Regions from separate parts of the Homo sapiens genome. Here all the other regions are linked to region 2. The links are contacts of gene promoters, found by promoter capture Hi-C in blood cells and fetal thymus (Javierre and others, 2016). All regions are on one chromosome and are shown on one strand. Each heading gives the region's core, a stretch centred on a gene start or on the middle of the fragment in contact. The rest is flanking DNA. Distances are from core to core; before and after follow the strand shown. Region 1 overlaps IKBKE (inhibitor of nuclear factor kappa B kinase subunit epsilon). Region 2 holds the start of IL24 (interleukin 24). Region 3 overlaps EIF2D (eukaryotic translation initiation factor 2D). Region 4 overlaps SRGAP2 (SLIT-ROBO Rho GTPase activating protein 2). Region 5 overlaps RASSF5 (Ras association domain family member 5).

Region 1 (4,403 bases), core at 417-2,916, 410 kb after region 2:
ACTGACATCCAAGCCCTGCTCCAGAGCAATTACACCAGAATGTGTGGTGGGTTGGAGTAGAAGAAGCAGGCATTGGTATTCTGATATGAGGACGGGTGAGTGCCAAGGTCTCAGCCCCATAACAAGGTGAGGTCCTACAGGCCTCAGAATGTGGTAGCACGTGGGAAATTGTCCTCTCTTCTCAGGAGGGGCCAGTGTTCACACAGGCAGGGGATGGAGAGTGGGCCTGATCTGAGAAGGCGGAACCCAAAACTCCTGAAGGGGACAGTGTGACAGAAGGTTCTACTTAAGGGCCACTGCCACTGTCCTTATCCCAGGGGCACCTAGTGTTCTCCTAAAGGAGACTTCTCAATATAACCAGGTGGAACGGTAGAAAGAATCCAGATTTGATTTGATTTTACCCCTCAAAAGCCCTGAAGAATCTAGATTGTAGAGGCAGGCAGAGCCACATACGAGTCTTGGGTCTGCCACTTACTAGCCATGTGATGTGCAGAGGAGACCTGTTCTCAGAGCCTCAGTTTCCTCACCTAGGAAATAGGGTGATGATATCTACTGTATAGGGCAGGTGTTGTAGGAGTAAATAAGCTGAGCTACAGAAATCTCCCAGCCAACTGCCTGGTCCACCCAGGGACAGAAAACCACTCCTCTGCTCACACCCCTTCACTCACTCCTCCCTCTGCCTCAGGGCTCCACAAAGCCCTGGGTCCTCTGAAGCCTAGAAGGGCCAGGCCAGGCCCTGGGCTCCAGGAGCTCAGGAGGGGCTGTTACCTCATCCTCTTGCCGTGTGTGACTAAGGACGCTTGATACTTCTGCACGCACTCCTCCTGGAACACCTGCAGGAGTCTTTTGGCTAAATGACTGAAATTCACCCTAGAACGACAGAGAACCAAGGTGCAGATGAGCTGCCAGAACCACTATGCACAAGCCCACCATCCCTCAGTCTCCGTCAGTCTCCGTCACCACCTTGTCGTAAGTGCCCAAGCCCTGCGTCCACAGCAGGGCTATGTCTCTGGGAAAGGAGGAAGGACGGTCACACACTTGGATTGTGAAGGTTGCAGTGGCCAGCAAAGCCCACATCAACAGGGAGACGTGGGAGACACACAGGGGGTCCTCAGGGAACACACATGTGCTCAAGCTTAGTCCTCAGGAAAGGGAAGGGAAAGTGAGGCAGCCGTGGAAAGAAGGTGTGTGAGTGCGTGTGTGTGTGAGACAAAAAGGGGTCGGGGTGCTTGTAGAACTGGGGGAGTGAGTTCCCAGATAACCATTAAATCAGGGAGGGCCTCCTGGACGTGAGTGTGTCCGGGAAACATGGGAGACAGAGGAGCGGGGGGAGGCAGGGAAGGTTCAGGCAGAGGGCAGAAGCAGGAAGTGGTAAGTGGTGCATCAGTGAGGACAACTAGAGAAAAAAAAAGCCTGCAAACAGTCTTGTCCATACCAGAAGTAAATCCAGTTACTTCAAGATTGCATCTGAGAAGTCTCCCTCCAACTAAGCTATGCATACTCCCTCCCCTGGCCCCAGATAACCTGTTATCCCCAACTCTGCTCAGCTGCAGTCCGGGACAGGGCCCTTCACTGCCTCTCCTCTGGCGTTGAGAATCGCTCTGCCCTGAGGACACCCACCCTCCTGCCCACCCACCTGCCGGAGGACAGGCCACTCACTTATCCAGCTTGTGAATCTGCTCCTCGTTGTAGCCAAGCCCTGGAGGAAACAGACAGAACAGATGTCACCTATTCAATCAGTCAACGAAACAGTGTGCAGCAAAGGTCGAGAGACAGTTAAAAGATGAAGACGGCCCAGCCTGTGCTGCTTCACGGGAACTCACCGCCCAGCGGAGCAGGAGGGGCAGAGGAGTGAAGCTAGCACCGGAATAGCTGATTAGGACAAAGCCAGGGCCTCAAGAAGCCATGGGGAAATTGTGTGAGGGCCCCAGGGGAAGGCAGCCTGCAGTGCAGGGCCGGGGTGGGGACGTGGGGGATGCTTCAGGTGGGAGTTGGTGGATGAAGTGGGCTTAGAAGGAGGCTCGGTCAACCATAGCCCCTTATCCAGCACCCTCCCAGAGTGACTGATGCCTGCAGCTGGGTGGTCCCATCCCTGAATGTTCATGGGCGCTACCTGCAACGAGCTGGAGAAATCAGGCCACCACCTTCTACCTCCCCGCTCTGCCCAGCCACTTTTGCCAGAAAGGCTGAAGCTTTCATGGCCTTGGCTGCCTCCTGAAGGGCCCTAAGGCTCATGCACTAGGGAGATGCTGCCCCCTCCTGGTCTTCGCAGGAATGGGCCTCCAGGGTGGCGGCAGCCCCAAGATGAAATGATGATGGCGGTTCACTTCGAGGGCCTCCCCATCCCACTCCTCTCATAGCAGAGTCCCCCTCCTGGGCCCTGCACTCGGCCAGCTAAGAGCATGTGTGCAGTCCGAGAGACCTGGGACAAACCTCAGCCCTTCCTCCTGTTGGCAGGCGGCACTAGGCGAGTGATTTCACTTCGCTGAGCCTGTCTCCTTATCCATCACAGGTGCCACTTGGGAGTCCCGTGAGGCTCATGCGAGAGAGCCTGAAGACCACCGGGCATTTTAAAAAATGGTATCTTTCAACACGCTGGGTTTTAACAGTTAGGGGTTCATTTTTAATTTTATTAAAGGACTCTTAAAGACCAATAGAAGTAAAACTCCTTTGAGGCTGTAAAATGGGATAGTTAAAAGCAGCTGGACCTAGATTACTTGGGCTACTTAACCTTTCTGTGTCTTGGTTTTCTCATCTATAAAATGGGGAGGGTAATGATGCCTAGAGGTTTTGTTATTGTTGTTGTTTGAGACAGGGTCTCGCTCTTGCCCTGGCTGGAGTGCTGCAGTGGTGTGATCTTAGCTCACTGCAGTCTCGAACTCCCAGCTCCCAGGCTCAGGTGATCCTCCCACCTCAGCCTCCCAAGTAGTTAGGACTACAGGCGCATGCCCACGTCCAGCTAGTTTTGTTTATTTTTTGTAGAGACGGGGTCTTGCTATGTTGCCCAGGCTGGTCTTGAACTCCTGGGCCCAAGTGATCCTCCCGCTTCAGTTTTCCAAAGTGCTGAGATTACAGACATGAGCCACTGCACACAGCTCCATGTATGTGTGTGTGTGTATATATATATATATATATATATATATATATACACACACACACACACACACACACATATACACACATATATAAAATTTAGTTTCCCAATAGAGATGTGTTATAAATGTTATATATATGTGAATAATATATATATGAATAATATATATATGTGAATAATATATATATGAATTATATATATATATGTGAAATATAAAACAATGAAGTGATGGGAAAGCATCCTGTAGTCCCAGCTAGTCAGGAGCCTGAGATGGGAGGATGGCTTGAGCCCAGGAGGTTGAGGCGACAGTGAGCAGTGATCATGCCATTGTACTCCTGCCTGGGTGACAAAGGCCCTGTCTCAAATATATATATTAGCATGTAATCAATATAAACAGAATTGCTAAGGAAATAAGTTATATATTTATGTGTATATATACACGTGGGATTTTGAAGATAACACAAAAAGAATATAAGGTATTTCCTTAGTGATTTTGTTTATATTGATTACACGCTAAAATGACACTGGATATATTGGGTTGAATAACACATTAAAATTAATTTCACTTGTTTCTTTCTACTTTTTAAAAATTGGCTACTAGAAGACTTAGAATTACATACGTGTCTGGCATTATATTTCTATTGGACAGTGGTTTTTAGATAATCCCAAGGAGAGAAGAGAATTTGGCAATAAAGCCCAAGACCTTCAGCCTACAGATTAGGAAATGCTTGGGGCCTGGGAGAGGAGGGGGAGGTTTGGTTCCTGGTGTGTTAGTTCCCCAACCTGAGGAGTCAACTGGAGCCTCCGCAGGCTCCCTCCAACCCCCTCACCAGCCCTCCCTGGGTCCCACCCTTGCACTACCCCACAATGGCAGTCACTTTGGACAAGCAGCTTCCCACCCCCGAGCCTGTAAATGGGCTGCCCCTGCCACAGCATCCTTGTGAGGATTAATGGATCAAGCAGCCAAAATGCCTGACCCAGTGACTCAAAATGGGACTTCTCCTGACCCCCCCTTTTCTGGAAAACCTGACTGTCTCAGTGTCCCAAGGACACAACGGATAGTGACATTCTATACTTTAAAGTGCCCTGCCAAGGTGCGAGATCTCTTTCCAGGACCACCTCTCCTACAGCACCCAGGTCCCGGCCCACTGGATCCCCCAACCATGTGATCCAAGTCTCTCATGTGGCAACAGGCAGGCATGTAAAGGTTTCATGTCCCCCACTGGCCTGCAGGCAGCTTGCAGACAGGGGCCTTGCCCCTAGAGCAGCTGCACAGAACCATCCGCTTAGTGGGCCTCCAAGAACCACC
Region 2 (4,125 bases), core at 514-3,013:
CAAGTTGAGACTATTGCAAACCGGCAGCCTTGCTAAGGTGCAGTGGGGGTGAAGCAGGGGTCTTTCTGCCCCTCAAACTTAAGGCCGCTCGTCTTGCCATCTGTCCACCTGCTCTTCCCCACCTTGCCCGTCCACACCCACACGCCCTGCACCTCCTCCTTCTCCATCGCAGTTCTCTCTAGCCTACAACCTGCGAGTCAGAATTTGACCCAGAAGAGTGGAGAAATGGGAGGTTCTAATGTGCCACGTCTGGGGAGCCCAAACCCAGGAAAACAAAGAGCTGAACTAGACATGTGCTTATCCAAGTTCTGCCCTGAAGCCACTAGGCACACATAGGCTGGCAGGTCTTTTTCTCCTCCCCAGGAGACGGCTGTCCCTCACTCCTCATCACAAGGGAGCAAGGGGTTAATCCTGGTCCCAGGGAGGGGCACAGAGGGCAGGTCAGGGTCACACACAGACTATGCCACCTCCACTAACCACTCACTCTTGAGTCTAAAAATTCACTTTTTTTAGTAACCAAATGAGAGAGAGGCATCAGATTTCCAGATGAATCATCTCTAAAGCCTTCCTCTGAAGTGCCAGTTGGGAAGGACTGAGTGAAGAGCCTCCAAGCTGGGGAACCTAACGCCATTATGTATTTATTATAACTGATGCAGAGAATTTCTTTCCCCCTGCCTTCTTTGCCCTTTGTCCTTTCCCTCCCTCTCTCCCTCCCTCCCTCCTTACCTTTCTTTCTTCCTTCTTTCCTCTCTCGCTCCCTCCCTTTCTTACTTTCTCCCTTTCTTTCGTACTTCTTTACACAATCATTTAAGAACCTTTCTTACTGCAGGCACTGGTCTGACACCTAAAGAAACTGCCTCCCACCCCTACACCGGGAGGAAGACCAGAGAAGACCCGGTTCTGCTGGTACCTGGGCTAGGGAGGCGGCGACCCCTGGGTTATGGGTCACGGGGGACGGGGGCTATGCTTTAGCATCTCCCTCAATGTCTTTTCATTCTGTTCTTTCAAACTCCACAGGCTTTTTTTTTTTTTTTTTTTTTTGACAGAATTTCAGTCTGTCACCCAGGCTGGAGTGCAGTGGCATGATCTCGGCTCACTGCAACCTCTGCCTACCAGGTTCAAGTGATGCTCATGCCTCAGTCGCCCAAGTAGCTGGGATTTTTGTATCTGAAAATATCAAAAACACATGCCCAACTAATTTTTTTTTGTATTTTTAGTAGAGACAGGGTTTCACCATGTTGGCCAGGCTGGTCTCGAACTCCTGACCTTAAATGATCTGCCCACCTCAGCCTCCCAAAGTTCTGGGATTACAGGTGTGAGCCACCGCACCTGGCTAAAGTCCACAGGCTTTGCAGCCTCTGTTGAAAATTCATCTCTCAGTCTCGTGTTCCTCCTGGCCTTCCTCCCAAGCAGCCTCAATTCTTCTTGGTGTTAAATTGGCGAAAGCAGCTCCTCATCACAGTCATGTCTTGTCCCTACATCAACACTCAAAAAAATTGACTTCTGCTGTCCCCACCTTGACCCCTTTTCACAAATAAAGCAGAGGTCTAGTCCTTCAAAAAAAAGTAACCAAGAATCCCCCATGCTCACCTCTGGTCCTGTAAGTGATGCTTGAGGGCTGGCTGCCTGGAGGCAGCTGGTTCTTTTTACAGAAAAGTTAGACAGGCACCTTCACCATTCACCAATCAGAGGCATAGCTGTGGGTGGAAGGTTCCCGTCCCAGCCGTGGAAGTCATTTCAGAAGTAAAGGTTTGCAGGCAAGCAAGGCTTTGTGGAGATTTGGGCATATATATGGGGGCTGATGGGGGAGGGGTGGAGGAAAAAGAGGGAGGTGGAGAAAGGGAAATTGGTCATGCTTTCCTAGAGAATTACTTCATTGCCTAGTCACCCATCACTTTAAGGACAATACAGCGATGGGGAAAGCAGCCCCTGAGGTGAGATGAGACCTGGGTTTGAGTTCAGGCTCTACCACTGGCTGTGTGGGCAGGGGCAAGTCTCTTAGCTTCTCTGCGCTGCAGTCTCTGCATGTATAAATTTTTAAAAAATTTGTCCCACCTCCCCCCAAGGGCAAGTGTAATAAACAGAGGCAAAAACAACACAGAGGTGCTTGGTAAACTCTGTACACATGTAAATACATTATTACTGTGCAGCATACACCAGTCTCCTTCCTGTCAAAATAATTCAATAATGATGCCCTATTCATGCTGGGACAGTAGTCCACAGCGAAGAAATAACCTGTAAGTACCTCTCCTTTAATCCATCAGGGCCAGGAAGTTGAGGAGTGTTTCCTGACATGCAGCTACCCATGGTCCCTAGGGTTATAATCACTCAACCAAAATGTGCCTCTCCTTAGGTTCTGGAAACCAGGAAGAATAAGGAAATGTACGCATGGACAAGCCCAGAAAGCTGGGAGGCCTGGTGCTCTGGTGGGCTAGTCTTGGCCTGTGTGGCTCTGAACCACTCAGGGGACACAGACAGCGTGATGTGTCAAGACTGCCAGGGCAGTCAAGAGCTCTGACCCTATCTCCAGCTAGCAAGGCACTCAGCTCTAGATTCTACCATGTGCCCAGTGAGGGCATCAAGCAGAGCAGTGTTTCCCAAAGCACAGTCCTCAGACTCTAGGTTTGAGGAATTCTTGTCTTGCAAGATCCTCCATGAAACAGATGAATCCTAATGAGGTCAGTTAGAGAGCCCTGGCATGTGCTAGCCCGTCCTGGAAATGTCTGATGCTTCTTAACTCTGTTTAATCCAGCATTTCCCATAAGTATTTGCCCACATCCCTGAGGAATACATTTTGGGAATCAGGGATTGGCCAACTGTAGGTCACAAGCCAAATCCAGCCTGCCACTGCTAAGCTGAGAATGGCTTAACCTTGCGACCTAAGAGTAGTTTTTACGTTTTTTAATGATTGGGGAAAAAATCAAAAGAAAGACATTATTTTCAGGTTTCCGTATCCATAATAAATAAAGTTTTCATGGGGTCACATATGTTTGTTGACATATTGTTGCTAATTGCTTTCGTGCTACAGAGGCAGAGATGAGTAGTTGTGACTGAGACCATATGGCACACAGAGCCTAAAATAGTTCCTGTCTGGTTCTTTACAGGAAGAGTTTGCCCAACCTGGGTCCAGGCATGGGAAACGGGAGTAGGAATGTGACGTGGGGGACAGGATAACTGCCTCCAGCTCAGTGGAGATGAAAGAAAAGAGGAGAGTGAGTAGAACACACCCTTGGCAGACTCTTCCCAATCTCTCTGGCACCAACACCCCCTCCCTCCATCTCATACTCAGTGTTGTTTATTTTCTTAAGCAAACAAAATACTCCTTTGCAATCCCTGGCCAGCAGTCTGCTTGGCTATAGCTGCCACCAGCCTGAATCCTTTGTTCCTGGAGGGCCCGAGTCTTACCCTCCAGAAGTAGGCACAGCCCCACAGCGCACTCTCTTCCCCCACTCCCCCCTTCCCACCATGTGGATTTAGGGCATTACCAAGAACCCCTAACTAACTACTATGAGATAAAGATGTCAAGAGGCAGTGATGAGACAGAAAAGAAGACCAGGTGAGAGTGCTGGAGTAATAGGTGAGTGGGAGGCAGGAGACAGCTAAAGCAGGAAGCTGAGAGGGAAAATGAGCCCCCAGGGCAGCTGAAATCCTAGACTACTGTCTGCAGATAGGCGGGGAGGGCAGGCAGGTGGGATGAGCTGTTAAAGGGCAGGCTGGAACAGAGGCATGAGGTCATGGATACACCTTGGCTGGCCTCAGGGTACACCTGGGATCGTGAGTAGCTCACTCTGTCTGAGGAAGGAATCATATAACATGGATAGTTCAGGCAAACATGTGCCTGGGCCTCAGCCTCCGATGAGCTTATCATAGCATTATTACTTCAGAAGGAAGGTCAAGGAGAGAACCTAGGAACCTTGGCCCAACATCAGTTGAGAATCTAGTTATGAGTACAAGCTTTGGAGGCAGGCAGACCTGGGTTCAAAAGGTGATCGAGCCACATATGAGCCCTCTGAGGCTCACCTTCCTCACTTGTGAAATAGAGTCCTCATAAGACCATGAGGATGTGATGACCTGCAGCTTTGCTCACCAAGTGTGGCCCATGAGCCAGCAGTGATAGCATTATCT
Region 3 (4,538 bases), core at 1,784-4,283, 300 kb after region 2:
TTTTCCCTGCAGAACAAATGGATGAGCTGTTACAGCAATGCTTCTTACATGCCTTGAAGTGCCGAGTCAAAAAGGCTGACCTCCCTTTACTCACCAGCACTTTCCTTGGCAGCCACATGTTCTCCTGCTGGTATGGAAAGCACTGATGTGGGCTGGAGGCCGGGGCCGGGGTCTCACGTGTGCTCCTTGGTAGTAGGACAGGATGGGGCCAATGCAGGGACTGGTTGAGGGACATGCTGTGGAAAGAGTGGAGGGAAGGCTTATCTGACAAATACATTAGTTCCTGGGTTCTAAAAAGTTAATTCTTAGCTTGCTGGGCTGTTAAAACAAAATCTTAAATTTTAGCCAATGAAAGGATATTGAGGACCGGAAAGTTAAAATTCCTGAGATTCTGTGAACACTGCCTCTGCCGTGGGGGTTCTGGGCAACCTCACAAATCGGGCAGCGTGTCCTCTGCAGGAAGTGTCCCAGGGCAGCCTCTTTGTCAGGAATCTTCTTCTGGAACATTCAACCTCCTCACACTTCTGAAAAGTATGTGGGGGGCCACATTAGGTTTTATTAGGAGGAAGAATTGGTGTGAACACCCCCCGTCCCGGCCCACCCCATCCAAAACACAAGCCATCAGGAGTGGTATTATTGCGTGTGGATAGAACCTGGATTTTGAAGACAGAGCTGTCTGTACTCAACTGCTAGGTCTCCAGGGTGTTCAAGCAATGTGCATTTTAGCTTGTTACTGGGCTTCTCTGAGTCCTAATTTCTAATAATCATGGGATTGCTGTAAAGATTACATAGCCTGAACCATAATAAGCATTCAGTAAATACTATCATGTCAGGAGGTTTGCTTATTGATTTTTACCCTGAGATTGAATTTATTTATTTATTTATTTTTTGTTTTGAGACACAGTTTCACTCTGTCACCCAGGCTGGAGTACAGTGGCGTGATCTCGGCTCACTGCAACCCCTGCCTCCCAGGTTCAAGAGATTCTCCTGCCTCAGCCTTCCCGAGTAGCTGGGATTACAGGCACATGCCACCATGTGCAGCTAATTTTTGTATTTTTAGTAAAGATGGGGTATCACCATGTTGCCCAGGCTGGTTTTGAACTCCTAACCTCAAGTGATCCGCCTGCCTCGGCCTCCCGTAGTGCTGGGATTACAGGCGTGAGCCACTGTGTCCGGCCTGAATTTATTTCTTTTTGAGAATCTGGCTGTGGTTTTTTAAAAAAGTGATTCTTAATGTAATGTCTTCCCATTTATACTTGGGTGTCTTTAAGCTATCCTGTACAAATGTGGTGTCTGGAGTGTGTGGAGGGATACTTGGTAATCTGTTCTGACTTTCTTGGGTTGCAAATATATGGTAAAGGGGCCCCAGAATATTCTGTAGGATAGGATTCTGGGGTGGATTCTAGAAGGACTCCTCGAGAATCCACTGCTATTGCGTGTCATGTTTTGAGAGAAGATGTAAGCTTTTATCAGGAATGTTCTCTCCAAAACTAATTGCTGTAGTGCAGGGGTCAGCATGTTTTTCTGTAAAGGGCCAGATAGTAAATATGAATATTTTCAGTTTTGCAGGCCACACCATCTCTGTTGCAACTGCTCGATGCTGCCATTGTAGCACTAATGTGACCATAGACAGTAGATAATTAGTTGGCCAGACCTGACCCCAGGATGCGGCTTGCTGGGCCCCACTCCAGGCCTGGCTGCCCACAGTGTGAGTTTGCTGTTGCAACTTTGGAGGCCACAGAAGGTTGTCTGGTCTGGGAGGAATCTAAGGCTGTATCCAATGTGGTAGCCACTGGCCACATGTCGCTATTTTCAGTTTAAATTAATTTAAAGTAAATAAAATTTAAAATTCAGTTCCCTTGGTCACATTAGTCACACTTCAAGTACTTACTACCCACATGTGGCTAATGGCTGCCCTGTTAGACAACACAGAGAACATTCCACGTCTATGGAAAGTTCTCTTGAACAGCACTGATTTAGAATGTCCCATAGTCTGCATCCCTCTCTGCTGTCATCCCTGGGCAGAGAGTTCTGGCACAGTGGCCTCTCTCTGAAGGTGGGGGAGGAAGGCTGAGGAAAAAGGCCCTCCTCTCAGTGTCAGGCAGGTCCCAGTATGACTGCTCATTAGTTTAATTTGCCTTTTCCATCTGCCATCAGCCCCGAAGGACGACAACTGGACATAAAGAAGTCAAGCTACAAAAAGGTAAGCAAGGATCTTCTTTGCAGACCCATGCAGAGAGTTGTGTAGGGGCACATATGACATAAGCCAGATGGATGCTGGGGAAGCCTTGTCTACCAGGCTCAGTCTAGAATTAAGCTTTTTGACTCCAAGTATAAGGGGGAAGAAAGAAACTCTCCCTGGGCTGAAGCAGTTGGTGGCACCCACTTTCCTTTCTCCTTTGACCCCTTTATATCTGATTAGAGTTCTGAACGGCCTCACTGGTTAGTCTCTAGCAGCTTCTTGCTCCCTGGCCCTCAGGTTGGGGGCCTCCCAGTTCCTGGTTGATGAAGGCAGGGGCTGTCTCATATCCCTGCACAGTCCCTGCCTAGCTCACTCTGGCACATCCTGGGTGCTCAGTATGTGTGTGGAATCAATGAAGTCCCCTACCACTGGCCCTCTCTCCCTTAGCTCTCTAAGTTCCTGCAGCAAATGCAGCAGGAGCAGATTATACAGGTGAAGGAGCTGAGCAAAGGGGTGGAGAGCATTGTGGCTGTGGACTGGAAACACCCGAGGTGAGTGCAGGGGGCCTGTCACTGTAGCCCAGCTGGCCCCAGGGCACCTGGGCCACGGACTGGGGATTGCTGAGATGCTAGTATAAAATGTGTTTTTTCTTTCCTTCTGCTGGGTTTTAGGATTACATCTTTCGTCATACCCGAGCCCTCCCCGACCTCCCAGACTATCCAGGAGGGTAGCAGGGAACAGCCCTATCACCCTCCAGATATAAAACCCCTCTACTGTGTCCCAGCCAGCATGACCCTGCTCTTCCAGGAGTCTGGCCACAAGTGAGTTTTTGGAGAGCAGCCCTTCTCTGCCTGCTTGGTGTTCTGGCCTACAGTTCCTCTCAACCTGAGTAGTGCTCTTTTGCGACTGGCAAAACCTGCTCTGCCCCTGTTCTCCCCTTCTCCAAAATCCAGCTTCCAGCCTTCTTCCCTGGGCAAGTTCCTCTGGACTAAATGAACGAGTAGGTCTCACCCTTTTCTGCGTGTAATTATTCTTCACATGGTCATGCTCACTTCAGTCAGGAAAAGGGAAGAAACTAGAGGCCGAAAGCTAAGGAAAGTTCCCTGCTCAGCAGGGAGTGAGTCTGGGCATCTGCATTTTTGTCTCATGGCACAGCATGAACTAACCCCTGGGTCACTTCTCCTCACCTAGGAAGGGGAGCTTTCTGGAGGGCAGTGAGGTCCGAACGATCGTCATTAACTACGCCAAGAAAAATGACCTGGTTGATGCAGACAACAAAAAGTGAGTGCATGAGAAGCACCAGATCTGTCTTATTGGGTCTTTGTCTTTATCAGACATAGACACATTTGGGGAGGATGTCTGGGAGGGAGAATAGAAAACCATAGCATCTTAGAGGTAATTAAGATCAGTGGTTTCCAAACCATGGGCTGTGGACACTCAGTTATTGTCTGGGGTGTTCAGATCCATGTATACGATCAACATTGACTACCGACTAAGTAAATATTCTCTCACAAATACCCATGAATCATCTTTAATTGGCTATTGTGAGGAATAAAATGCAAGCTTACAAAGAATTTACTGAAGTCATCATAGCTTTAGGTATTTATTTTTATTGATAGATATTTGTACATATTTATGGGGTGCATGGTATTTTGTTACATGCACAGAGTGTATAACGATCAAGGCAGGGTATTTGGGGTATCATCACCTTGAGTATTTACCATTTCTATGTGTCGGGAACACTGTAAGTCCTCTTTTCTAGCTATTTTGACATACACAATACATTGTTGTTAACTACAGTCACCTTACTCTGCTCTCAAAGACTAAACTTATTTCTTCTATCTAACTGTATATTTGTACCCATTATGGTATTATTTTCTTAAAAGGAGATACAGATGGTAAACTACCAGATGAAGAGAGTTCCATTAATTGTTTTTTACTTTAATGGCCGGACACTGTGGCTTATGTCTGTAATCCCAACATTTTTGTAGGTTGAGGTGGGAGGATTGCTTGAGGCCAGGGGTTTGAGACCCACCTGAGCAGCATGATGAAACCCTGTCGCTACAAAAAATACAAAAATTAGCCGGGCATGGTAGGGCATGCCTGTAGTCTCAGCCACTTGGGAGGTTGAGGTGGGAGGATCGCTTGAGCCCAAGAGGTTGAGGCTGCAGTGAGCAATGATGATGCCACTGCACTGCAACCTGGGTGATACAGTGAAACCCCATCTCAAAAAAAAATTTTTTTTTCACTTTAAAAAAACATCATCATGATAAAAAAGTTGAGACATACCAGCCTAATCTAATACCTTCATTTTATTTTATGTTTTATTTTTATTTTTGAGACAGAGTTTTGCTCT
Region 4 (4,477 bases), core at 1,969-4,468, 440 kb after region 2:
GCTGTCACTCCGAAAAGTTTTCCGGATGCTCCCAGATTCTGGACGCTTCCTTTGCCTTCAATCACAAACAGAAAGGGCAGTGTGATCAGGGAGCCCTGGCTCCAAGGAAGCTAGGATAAGTGGGAGGGGGCAGATGTTGGCACCCAGGGACTTCGGAAGGAGAGGGACACAGAACTCGTTCTCTCCTCGGCTTCATCTTCTCTTGCATTCTCCATGTCTTCATTCCCTTGCCACCCCCAAGCTGGGTGAAGGAGAAATGGATACTTACTTGGTGGTCACGGGCTTTGTGTTGTCAAGATGTAAGTTGCTGTCAGAAAAAATGTCTGATTAAGCGAAGGTTTCTAATGGGAAAGAGATTCATGGAAAGGCCCCTTCTGTGACCTGCCATGAACAGAAACCTAAGGCCCCAGCTAGGAGAAGAAGTCTCACCATCACCAAAGAGGTCAAGATTGCTGGTAAGAGGATAGTTAACTTTTCTAAATTTTAGCATGACTCTTTTTCCAAAAAGACTGTAACTGTTTTGGGCTCTGGCAAGAGGCTGTTGTTGCTTATTCTGTAGGCATGGAGCAGAATAGTTTTCAAGAGGCAGCAACACTGCAGAGTTGGGGCCCAGTTTGTGCGTTTTCTTAGTGTGGAAATACCTCTACATGACTCCCAAGTCACCCAGCACTGGGCTGAACCCTGGATCTGGGCGAATTTGTTTCAGACCACTTAGGGCTCTCAGACAAAATGGCTTGGCAGAATCCCAGTTACATGGGTGTTGCCTGCTGCTGGATAATTTCATTTTGTCTTGGAATCAGATCTGAAAAGGTCTAATCTAAGAGGCAATGAAACTTCTGATTTGGATGGCTGCTGAACAGCTCTGATCTTGAATCTAAGAGAGATGGGGGCTGAGGCAGGAGTTGAGGTGGAAGGAGGGAAGGGGTTAGACTCTGAAGATAAGGAGCTGGTCTGTGAGGTGGGGACAGTGCTCTAAGCCAGTCCTAGTCCTGTTCACTGCTGAGGTCTTCCTCATCTTTCTGCCTGCAGGGCCTGGCCCAGGACCTGGCATGTATCAGTCACTCCGTGAGTCTGTCCACTCGGCAGTTTTAGGCTTGTGACTCAGCCGCTCTCGAGTGGAAAAAGGATGTTCTCAGAGTCTTCTAAGGCCCTGCTGAAATGAACCCCCTCTCTGCAAGGATTTCCCTGGCACCACTAACTCCAACTGCACTGGCACCACTGCACCACTAACTCCAGTTGCAGGAAGAATGGACCCCTCCCTCCTCTGTACCTTCAGAGCATCTGATGCTACCTGTCAGTTACCTGTCCATAGGGTCTTTACCTTGCCAGACTGTGAGCTCTGAGATCAGGGACCTCGTCTTTTTTATCTCTGAATAAACACCAGCAGTGCTTGGCACAACAGTAGATACTTAATAAATGTGTAGAATTAAATGGAAGTGCCACACCCTAATAGCTCTTTGCTGATTTCCTTTTTCTGCTTGAGGATAGCTGACTCATGGGCTGAAACTGCTGAGAAGACAGATTTATGGGGTGGCTGTGGTGTGCCATGTCCCAGGCTAGGCCCTGGGGATGTAAAGAAAAGGAAGATATAGTTCCTGGGTTCAAGGAGCTCAATCTGGTGGGGGATCTGAGTGAAGCGTGAGTACCAAAAGGTATTCAAAGTGTCTTTGGAATGCAGCATAAGGGCACCTCACTCAGCCTGGGGAAGTCAGGGATGTCAGAATGGCTTCCCCAAAGAGCTAAGTCTTCGGACTGAGTCTTGAAGGGAGATGAGGAGGTGACCAGGTGAGGAGACAGCAGGCGTGAGCGCCCAGGGGCGAAAGAGAACCTGGGCACTCGGGAAACTCAAGGAATTTGGGAGGAGGAGTGGCGTGGGGGGCAGGAGGTAAGACTCAAAGGCCGACTCACTTCTAAGGGCCAGACATGCCCCGGGGCCACCGCTCACCCACCCACCAGGTGATGAGGCTTGTCCTCCAAGAACCCCATCCCAAGACTCCTGACACCAGCAAACAAGGAGTTCAAGGGAACCACCTTAACTGTCTACAGATACTCTTTTTTTTTCTTCTTCTGTTTACCATTTCAGTTATTACTCTCTACAATTTCTATGCACAAATGGCATCAAATATATGATGGCTTAAAAATATGTACTTAACTAATTATCTAACTCTTCCTCCACCAACCCCGCCTTGGTTTCTGAGTTAATTATAGGATCACGACCTTTTGATTGTAGGGTTACAATTTAACACAGAATTGTAAATAAGGAAAAAAATGTGATTAGCCCACAGTTACTTGATATTGGCTTGCCCTCCCAGCAGGGCAGTGTGCTGGAGGGAAACAGAAACTTCTCAATTTTTTTTTAACTGGTCTGAATTAAATTATAACTACACTGAGTAAGTGATCTGAATAAACGACTTTACTAACTTGAGGGTGAAAGAGATGGAAAAGAGCCACGTGCCCCAACCACTCCCCCTGCTACCGTCTGGGTGGAAAAAAGCCAAGAGATCTGGGAAACCTGGTATAGTTTAAAAACAACAAGCATCCTTTATTCTCCTTCCAGTCTCAGTGTCCAGAGGCTACGGTTAACAGGTTTTCAAAGTGCAAATCATTTCATTCCTCAAAAGCCAGAGGGGAATAAAAACTGTACATCATCTCCAATCCATATTCATCAGGAGCGCCCTGGGGCTTGTCATCCTGCTGGCACGGGGCCAGGTTTCAGGGCCTGGCGGAAAGAGGTCTGTAGGCTTTGGGACTTGGTGTCTGGCCCCTTGAGATGAGATTAGTTCTCCAATAACCTGAATGCCTCTTGGGGAGGCGGCAGCACGCAGGCGTAGAATCCCTCTAGACAGCCAGATCGGGCGTGGGTGGAGTTTAAACCCCAGGATGTTGCTAACAGCCACAATGAAAGCTGGGGGTCAGAGGTAAGAGCCTGCTGAGCAGGAGTGGGGATCTGCAAAGGGACTAAGGGGGTAGAATAATACAAAAGGCCAAAGCAATAGGAACAAAATGGAAAATTATTTCTCCTGGTGTGAAAGGGCAGAAGAAAAGGGAGCTAGGGGTTAGCCAATGAATGAAGAGCTCAGGACAAAGCTTTCCTTAGGGACATCGTGGCCTCCTTTCCTCCACAGGAGTGAATGCAGGACAGGGGGAGGAACAGACACATGATATCTCAATAAACCCACCTGGTGTAACATCAGCCTAGTAGAAGCCACACACAGACTCTGAATCTTTGCACGAACACGGGTCAAGGAAGACAGACATCAAAGACTATTATTTGAGTATGGATTGGAAAAAAGAAGGCACCTCTGAGAAACAGTACAAAACCAGGTTGCATAAAGTGACCAAAGCTTTGGTCAAAGTTTTAGCTGTAAGACTGCCACAAAGGTCTGGGTGGACAGACACTGCGGGAACACACAGTAAAGCACCCTTCCACAGCACGAGGGCAGCTAGCTGGAGACCTGGACCTGCCCCGAGGCTTGTAGCAGCATCCTCAGCCCTGTCCGCCTTGCAGCAGCAATGACCACATGCAAACTGTTAGGCTGGGGGAGCTGGGAGCCCTACGTGCAGCACAGGAATGGAGATGGGGGTTAGGCCAGAGGGTGAGGCTGGGTGTTGCAAGTCATTCAGGGGAGCAGAAAATGAAAAGCAGAGCTTACTTGTTGATGTTTGCAAGATAAATATCGGCTACATGACCCCCACTGGGACAGCTGGCCCCCGCTCTGGCTGTCACCTTTTCTTCAGGTGGCTCAGAAATGACCTCAATCTCAGACTTGGGGCTGGACCTCTCCACGACACCGTCCTCGCTGGGGGAGAAGGGGCAGGCAGGCAGGGAGGAGGGAAAACAACAACAACACAAAAAGCAGCGTTAAATCGGCAAGATGGCCCCCCGACATACACGCGACCCCACACAGCTCTGAGGCAGCAGCGACACCTGGCTGGACTAGTTCTGTGAGCAGAGGCAAGGAAACCTAAGGGCCTTTGAAGGGTCGTTTAAATAAAAATAAATAATCCGCTGAGTTCTGCGGGCTCCTCAGCTCCTCAGGAAAGCGTGGCTAGGGGACACCTGGATTCGAGGCATCTGCCTTCTACCCCATGCTGCTTCCTGGGGAGGCCGTGCTGGGGCGGCCTCCTGGAGAAGGAGGCGGCAAGTCCAGGTTGTGGTTTATCGGCTGAGGTCCTGAGCACTGCCGGGTAAGGACAGTCAACTGTGTGGTGGCTCTGGAGACGGCGGCGTCGTGGCAGGACACCGCCACACACTGTCGTAGCGCCTCTAGCCCCGCTCAGAGCATCCAAGCCGGTCCCAGGTCTCTCCACTGCTCTCCTGGCCCCTCTGGCTACTGATGACAAAGAAAGCCCCTTCTCCCCCACAATTCATCTTCTCTTGATCCTGTGGTGAAGTCATAATGCTAAATTTGGGAGGGTCCTGTCCACGCACAGATTGCCACCAGGTTTGCGATGCTATCAACAGAGGGAGGATTTC
Region 5 (4,449 bases), core at 645-3,144, 330 kb after region 2:
TTGCTCATGTCCCCTGGGAAAGAAGCTCCAAACCCACTCCTCCTCTGTCAAACCCACATTAAGCACTTACCACGTGCCAGGGGACACAGTGATGAACAAGCTATGGTCCCTGGTCCAGAAAATTATAGCCCATTGAAAGGAGAGATAGGAGAGAAAGAGCGGCGAGGTGTTTGGGGAGCACAGAGAAGGGGACATCTGAGTTACAACTGGAAATGCCCTCTAACACTCTGGAATCACCAGCTCCCACATTCTCCTCCTGAACCCACGCCTTCCCAGCCAATTGTGAGCATCGACATTATAGGTGCCAAGTGCCTCTTCACTGTGCTCCAGCCAACGGAGGGGATAGGTGGAGCTTCAGTTCTGGGGTGAGAAGACCTGCCTCTTGCTCCCCACTGCAAAGCGAGGGCCCTGCAGACCCAGTTCCTGCATGTCATCCACAGCAAAGTGGGGGGAACAGTTCACCACCACTCACCACATGGGGGAGAGCCTGGAGATGAGGAGGATAATGAGGGGTTCACGAATTGGAGGCTGATGAGATGATCATGATAACAAAGTACAGTAACCCAGATTTCCCAAGACTAGAACAGGAAAAAACGGCCTGAATTTCAGCATCAGGAAATTGACTGAATGAGAAAAACAGCTTCCTACGGCAGGACATCAGAGCTTGAGAGGGGTGACTGGAGCTTATTTGGAGCCTTTCAAAGCTGGACTCTTCCCTCAGCTGTGTGTGTGGTGGGATGAGCATGTGCTTTAGAGCTGGACAAGCATGGGGGCTGGCAACCTTGCCCTTGGCTCACCCCCTTTCACATGTTACCTCATAGAATGTGTCAACTTTTTGGCTTGATGGTAGCAGAAATTCCGCCAGCGACATCTGTCAGGCATGAACACTCTGCTGCCTCCCTCCCTGCTTTTCTTGCTTAGGATGGTAAATTAACTTAGTCTAAGATGGTAAACTAACTTAGGATGGTGGTAATGAACAGACCTTCCTTCCCCTGCCTGTCATGGGTTATGTGCAGTCCTGCATGGGGACAGAGGAATGGCTGTGATAACCCCTAACCATCTCCTCCAGCTCCAGGAGGCTCTGCTTTTCAGAGGTGAGGTAAATCCCCCTCCATCCTCCTCAGTGGTGGTGCAGCTCTGTCACTGTGTCTGCTGGCAGCCTGTTCCCAGCCCCTCGTGGGCAATTCCTGTTCAAACCCTTTGATTCTAGGAGTCAGGCCCTCCATCCTCCCTGTCTCAGGAGTTGCTGCCATGTCATGATAAAGGCCATGTGGCTGCAAGGCAGTTGCTGAGAGCATCTTCCACTAGGATATGGAAGGGCCTCCATCCAAACACTTCATGGATGGGGAAGGGGAGCAGCTAGGGTCTGTTACACAATGTGGGCTGGGGGCCCTAAGGCCTTCAAGTACAGAAACCCCATCTCATCCATCTTTATGTCCCCCACCTGTGGTGCTCAGTGCTATAGGAAAGTTAAAAACACAACATTCTGACTGAGGCCAGGTGCTGCAGAGTTTGGACGCTGTACTAAAGAGGGAGAACCAAGTATGGGCTTCACTCCGGAAGGAAAGGGAACCTGGGAAAATTTTGGGATATGGGAAAAATAAGCCCTTGGCAGTTGTAGGCAGGATACACAGAGGGGAAAACACAGGATTGAAACTGCAGGGTAACTGACTTACTGGGGCATCTCAGTGAGAGGCTATGAGCAGCCAACACAGGGTGAGGCGGGGACAGAGAGGAGAGGCCTGACCTCTGCAGCACTGCGGGGACAGATGGGGTGAATAGAAGAGGTGAAGACCCCTGAGGTATTGAAGGTGGGGGACTAGGAGGGTGGGGCAGAGACAGAGAAATAAATGAGTTATGAGTTGGTTCTGGACATACTAAATTTAAGGTATCTGAGACCTCCAGGAAGCTGTAGAAAATGCCATTCTAGAGCTAGGAAGAGAGGTGGGGCGAGGGATGTAGGCTGGAGAGTGATTAGCTAAAGCTGGGATGCTGTGGGAGAAGAGGGGAGATGAGCCCCCAGGACAGAAGCCTTCTGTGAACAGAAGCCACAGGCTCAGCAATTCAAGCCTGAAGCTGTCTGTCAGTGCAGCTCTTTTCTTCCTCCTGGCCCTGAAATCAAGTGCTCCTGATTCGTGGCACTTTATCTCATCCTCTTGTCTCTGGAAAATATGCCAGGCTAGGTCTGGATCCCCACCCCATGCTCTTTGAGGTAGACTAAACCATGAAGAAGAAGAAACCAAGGACCTGCAGGACAGGTCTCAGTTCCCCACCCAGGGAGCTCCCAAAGCCAGAAGATACACAGGTGTGGGGTACCTGGTAAGTGAAGAGCAGAAGAGAAGAGAATCGAGGTCCCCAAGCTAGGACCCCTTCAAGCTCCTAGGCTGGGAGTTGGATCCAAAGCCTGATCTGACAGTGTGCAATAAGACCTGGGATTCAAGGTTTGATACTGGCATAAAATCTTTCTTCTTTTCTCCCTAAACTGCTTGGGTGGGTGGATATTATGTGTCCCAAACTGTAAGTGAAATTGCTTTATAGGGAAAAGCTGATTCTGGATAAACTATCTAAACCTGTGAAGACAGAAGGAGGGCAGGAGGGGAGGAACCAGAACAGAGAGTGAGGGATGGCCTGGACTAAGCGGCGTGTGAACAAGGATGTCTTGGGTGAGTTCCAGGTGGTCCTGGAGGAGGTCGTCTCTCTGACCCCTCCCTAGGGGAAGTCCTTATGGTTTAGAGAACTTGGCAGCCAATATCTAGAATCCCTACCAGGCCCATGAGAAACTAGTAAAAAGGGTCTGTTCCCATGCAAAGAGGCAAGGGACTCTCAGCAGGGAAGATAAGGACACTCACATGACAAGGGTGTTTGTTGAGAAGGACAGGATGAAGTACCTGAGTCTGATGATTGAAATGACTTGGCCATAACCTCTTAGTGGCTTGAGCTGGATGGGAAGGGAGGACTTCATTTACAGTTAGTGCTGTGTGTCTTCCCTTACATCATGTGCCATCAAGATCTCAAAGGGCCTTGAAATAAGAGTTCAGCTTGTGGTGATGAGACTAGCAGAGAAAGCTCTGAGCAGGACCCAGGGGGCCTGACTCCTTGAATCTGTCTCTACTGAGCTGTGTGACTGGGGGCAAATCCTCTTCCCTCTCTAGACTTCAGTTTCCAGCCTAGGAACCTCTTAGGAATCTGTGACACATTCTCTTCTTGCATTCCAATTGGGGTAAGCAGTCAATTACCAAATATTTCCTAAACAGGTGGTTCCTAGATTGCAGCATATATGAGAATCACCTGGGAAAAGTATTAGAAAAGCAGAATCCAGGGTCCCATCTCCAAAGATTCAGGAGCCAGTAGCTCTGGAGTAGGGCCCCTGAAACTCCATTCTCAAAGAGTAGTTCTGGTGCAGGTGGTTGAGGCCACCTTGATGCAACACTGAAGGTTTCAGATGCTACAGAGAAACCAGAGAAGTGCTGAGTGAGGAAAAGCACCCGTCCTCAAGAGATTTCCAGTTTAGATGGGGGAGACAGGACCCAATCCCAAGAACAGAATATCCTCAGTGACAGATGAGAGAGAGGTACAAGGTCAAAGAAACAGGTCATGTCCTTTACCAAGCAGTTATGAGCAGAGCTTCCCAGGTGCCTGGCGCAGAAACGGTGGCAGGAGGCATGTGTGGCAGAGACAGCTAAATGCTCACCACAACCTGCTTCCTTTTCTACCAGGGCTCACAGCTGTACTTCACTTCCCAACCTCCCCTGTGGTTAGGTGTGGCCACGTGACTGAGTTCCAGCCAATGGCCCGTGGTTGCAAGAAACACCCACCATTTCCGGGTCTGGCCCACAAGCTTCCCATGTGTTATCCTGATCCCCACCTGCCAATCTAACTTTTTTAAGTAAAGGGGGAAATAAACCTCTGATTATATTCAATGACTGAAAAGCAGGGGTTGTTTCAAGTTAGTCCATCCTGATTGTACAGGATGCAAGAGAGAAGATGCAGCAATTCAACCCAAGCAGTATTTGGTCAATACTGGCTTTTTTTTTTTGAGACAGAGACTCGTTCTGTCGCCCAGGCTGGAGTGCAGTGGCACGATCTTGGCTTACTGCAAGCTCCGCCTCCCGGGTTCACACCATTCTCCTGCCTCAGCCTCCCAAGTAGTTAGCCTGCCACCACGCCTGGCTAATTTTTTCTATTTTTCAGTAGAGATGGGGTTTCACCAGGTTAGCCAGGATGGTCTGGATCTCCTGACCTCGTGATCCGCCCGTCTCGGCCTCCCAAAGTGCTGGGATTACAGGCATGAGCCACCACGCCCGGCCAATACTGGCTTTTGTAACCAAGTACTTGATGTTGTTGGACCTGAAGGAGATGCGAGTTCTGATCTTATAGGACGGACAATACTGGGAAGGGCCAGAGGAGGCAGCGGGCAGTGAATCCCACGAGTGTGGAGTTCGGACGGCA

What was found. Contacts are between HindIII fragments. The CHiCAGO score rates a contact against its expected background, and 5 or more counts as called.
Region 1: a fragment that was not itself captured here is called in contact with the fragment with the promoter of IL24 in region 2 in 2 of 17 cell types (activated CD4 T cells and total CD8 T cells); the score reaches 6.2 in activated CD4 T cells.
Region 3: a contact is called between a fragment that was not itself captured here and the fragment with the promoter of IL24 in region 2, in 1 of 17 cell types (activated CD4 T cells). The highest score is 6.1, in activated CD4 T cells.
Region 4: a contact is called between a fragment that was not itself captured here and the fragment with the promoter of IL24 in region 2, in 1 of 17 cell types (activated CD4 T cells). The highest score is 5.2, in activated CD4 T cells.
Region 5: a contact is called between a fragment that was not itself captured here and the fragment with the promoter of IL24 in region 2, in 2 of 17 cell types (non-activated CD4 T cells and activated CD4 T cells). The highest score is 6.2, in non-activated CD4 T cells.

The regions. Positions count from the first base shown.
Region 1 is chr1:206,488,115-206,492,517 of GRCh38, reverse strand. It overlaps IKBKE (inhibitor of nuclear factor kappa B kinase subunit epsilon), which reads right to left. Exons shown (of 22, transcript NM_014002.4): 17 at 1,660-1,699; 18 at 769-870. It overlaps IKBKE-AS1 (IKBKE antisense RNA 1), which reads left to right. Exons shown (of 2, transcript NR_172918.1): 2 at 1-1,402. Among named protein-coding and RNA genes, the nearest start is that of IKBKE-AS1, 7.4 kb to the left of the region's middle. The HindIII fragment of the contact is 1,057 bases long and covers 1,138-2,194 here.
Region 2 is chr1:206,895,081-206,899,205 of GRCh38, reverse strand. It overlaps IL24 (interleukin 24), which reads right to left and starts at 1,763. Exons shown (of 7, transcript NM_006850.3): 1 at 1,591-1,763; 2 at 1,330-1,475. The coding sequence starts at 1,373. It overlaps LOC105372879 (a long non-coding RNA gene), which reads left to right and starts at 3,088. Exons shown (of 2, transcript XR_007066836.1): 1 at 3,088-3,212. The HindIII fragment of the contact is 4,835 bases long and covers 1-3,956 here.
Region 3 is chr1:206,597,928-206,602,465 of GRCh38, reverse strand. EIF2D (eukaryotic translation initiation factor 2D) reads left to right here. Exons shown (of 15, transcript NM_006893.3): 7 at 13-130; 8 at 2,158-2,203; 9 at 2,630-2,733; 10 at 2,854-3,003; 11 at 3,374-3,463. Among named protein-coding and RNA genes, the nearest start is that of EIF2D, 12 kb to the left of the region's middle. RefSeq lists an enhancer at 1-579. The HindIII fragment of the contact is 1,428 bases long and covers 2,320-3,747 here.
Region 4 is chr1:206,454,201-206,458,677 of GRCh38, reverse strand. It overlaps SRGAP2 (SLIT-ROBO Rho GTPase activating protein 2), which reads right to left. Exons shown (of 23, transcript NM_015326.5): 21 at 3,654-3,800; 22 at 1-55. Among named protein-coding and RNA genes, the nearest start is that of IKBKE, 14 kb to the left of the region's middle. RefSeq lists an enhancer at 3,330-4,001. The HindIII fragment of the contact is 257 bases long and covers 3,090-3,346 here.
Region 5 is chr1:206,562,509-206,566,957 of GRCh38, reverse strand. All of the region lies in intron 2 of RASSF5 (Ras association domain family member 5), which reads right to left. Among named protein-coding and RNA genes, the nearest start is that of EIF2D, 48 kb to the left of the region's middle. The HindIII fragment of the contact is 3,892 bases long and covers 1-3,840 here.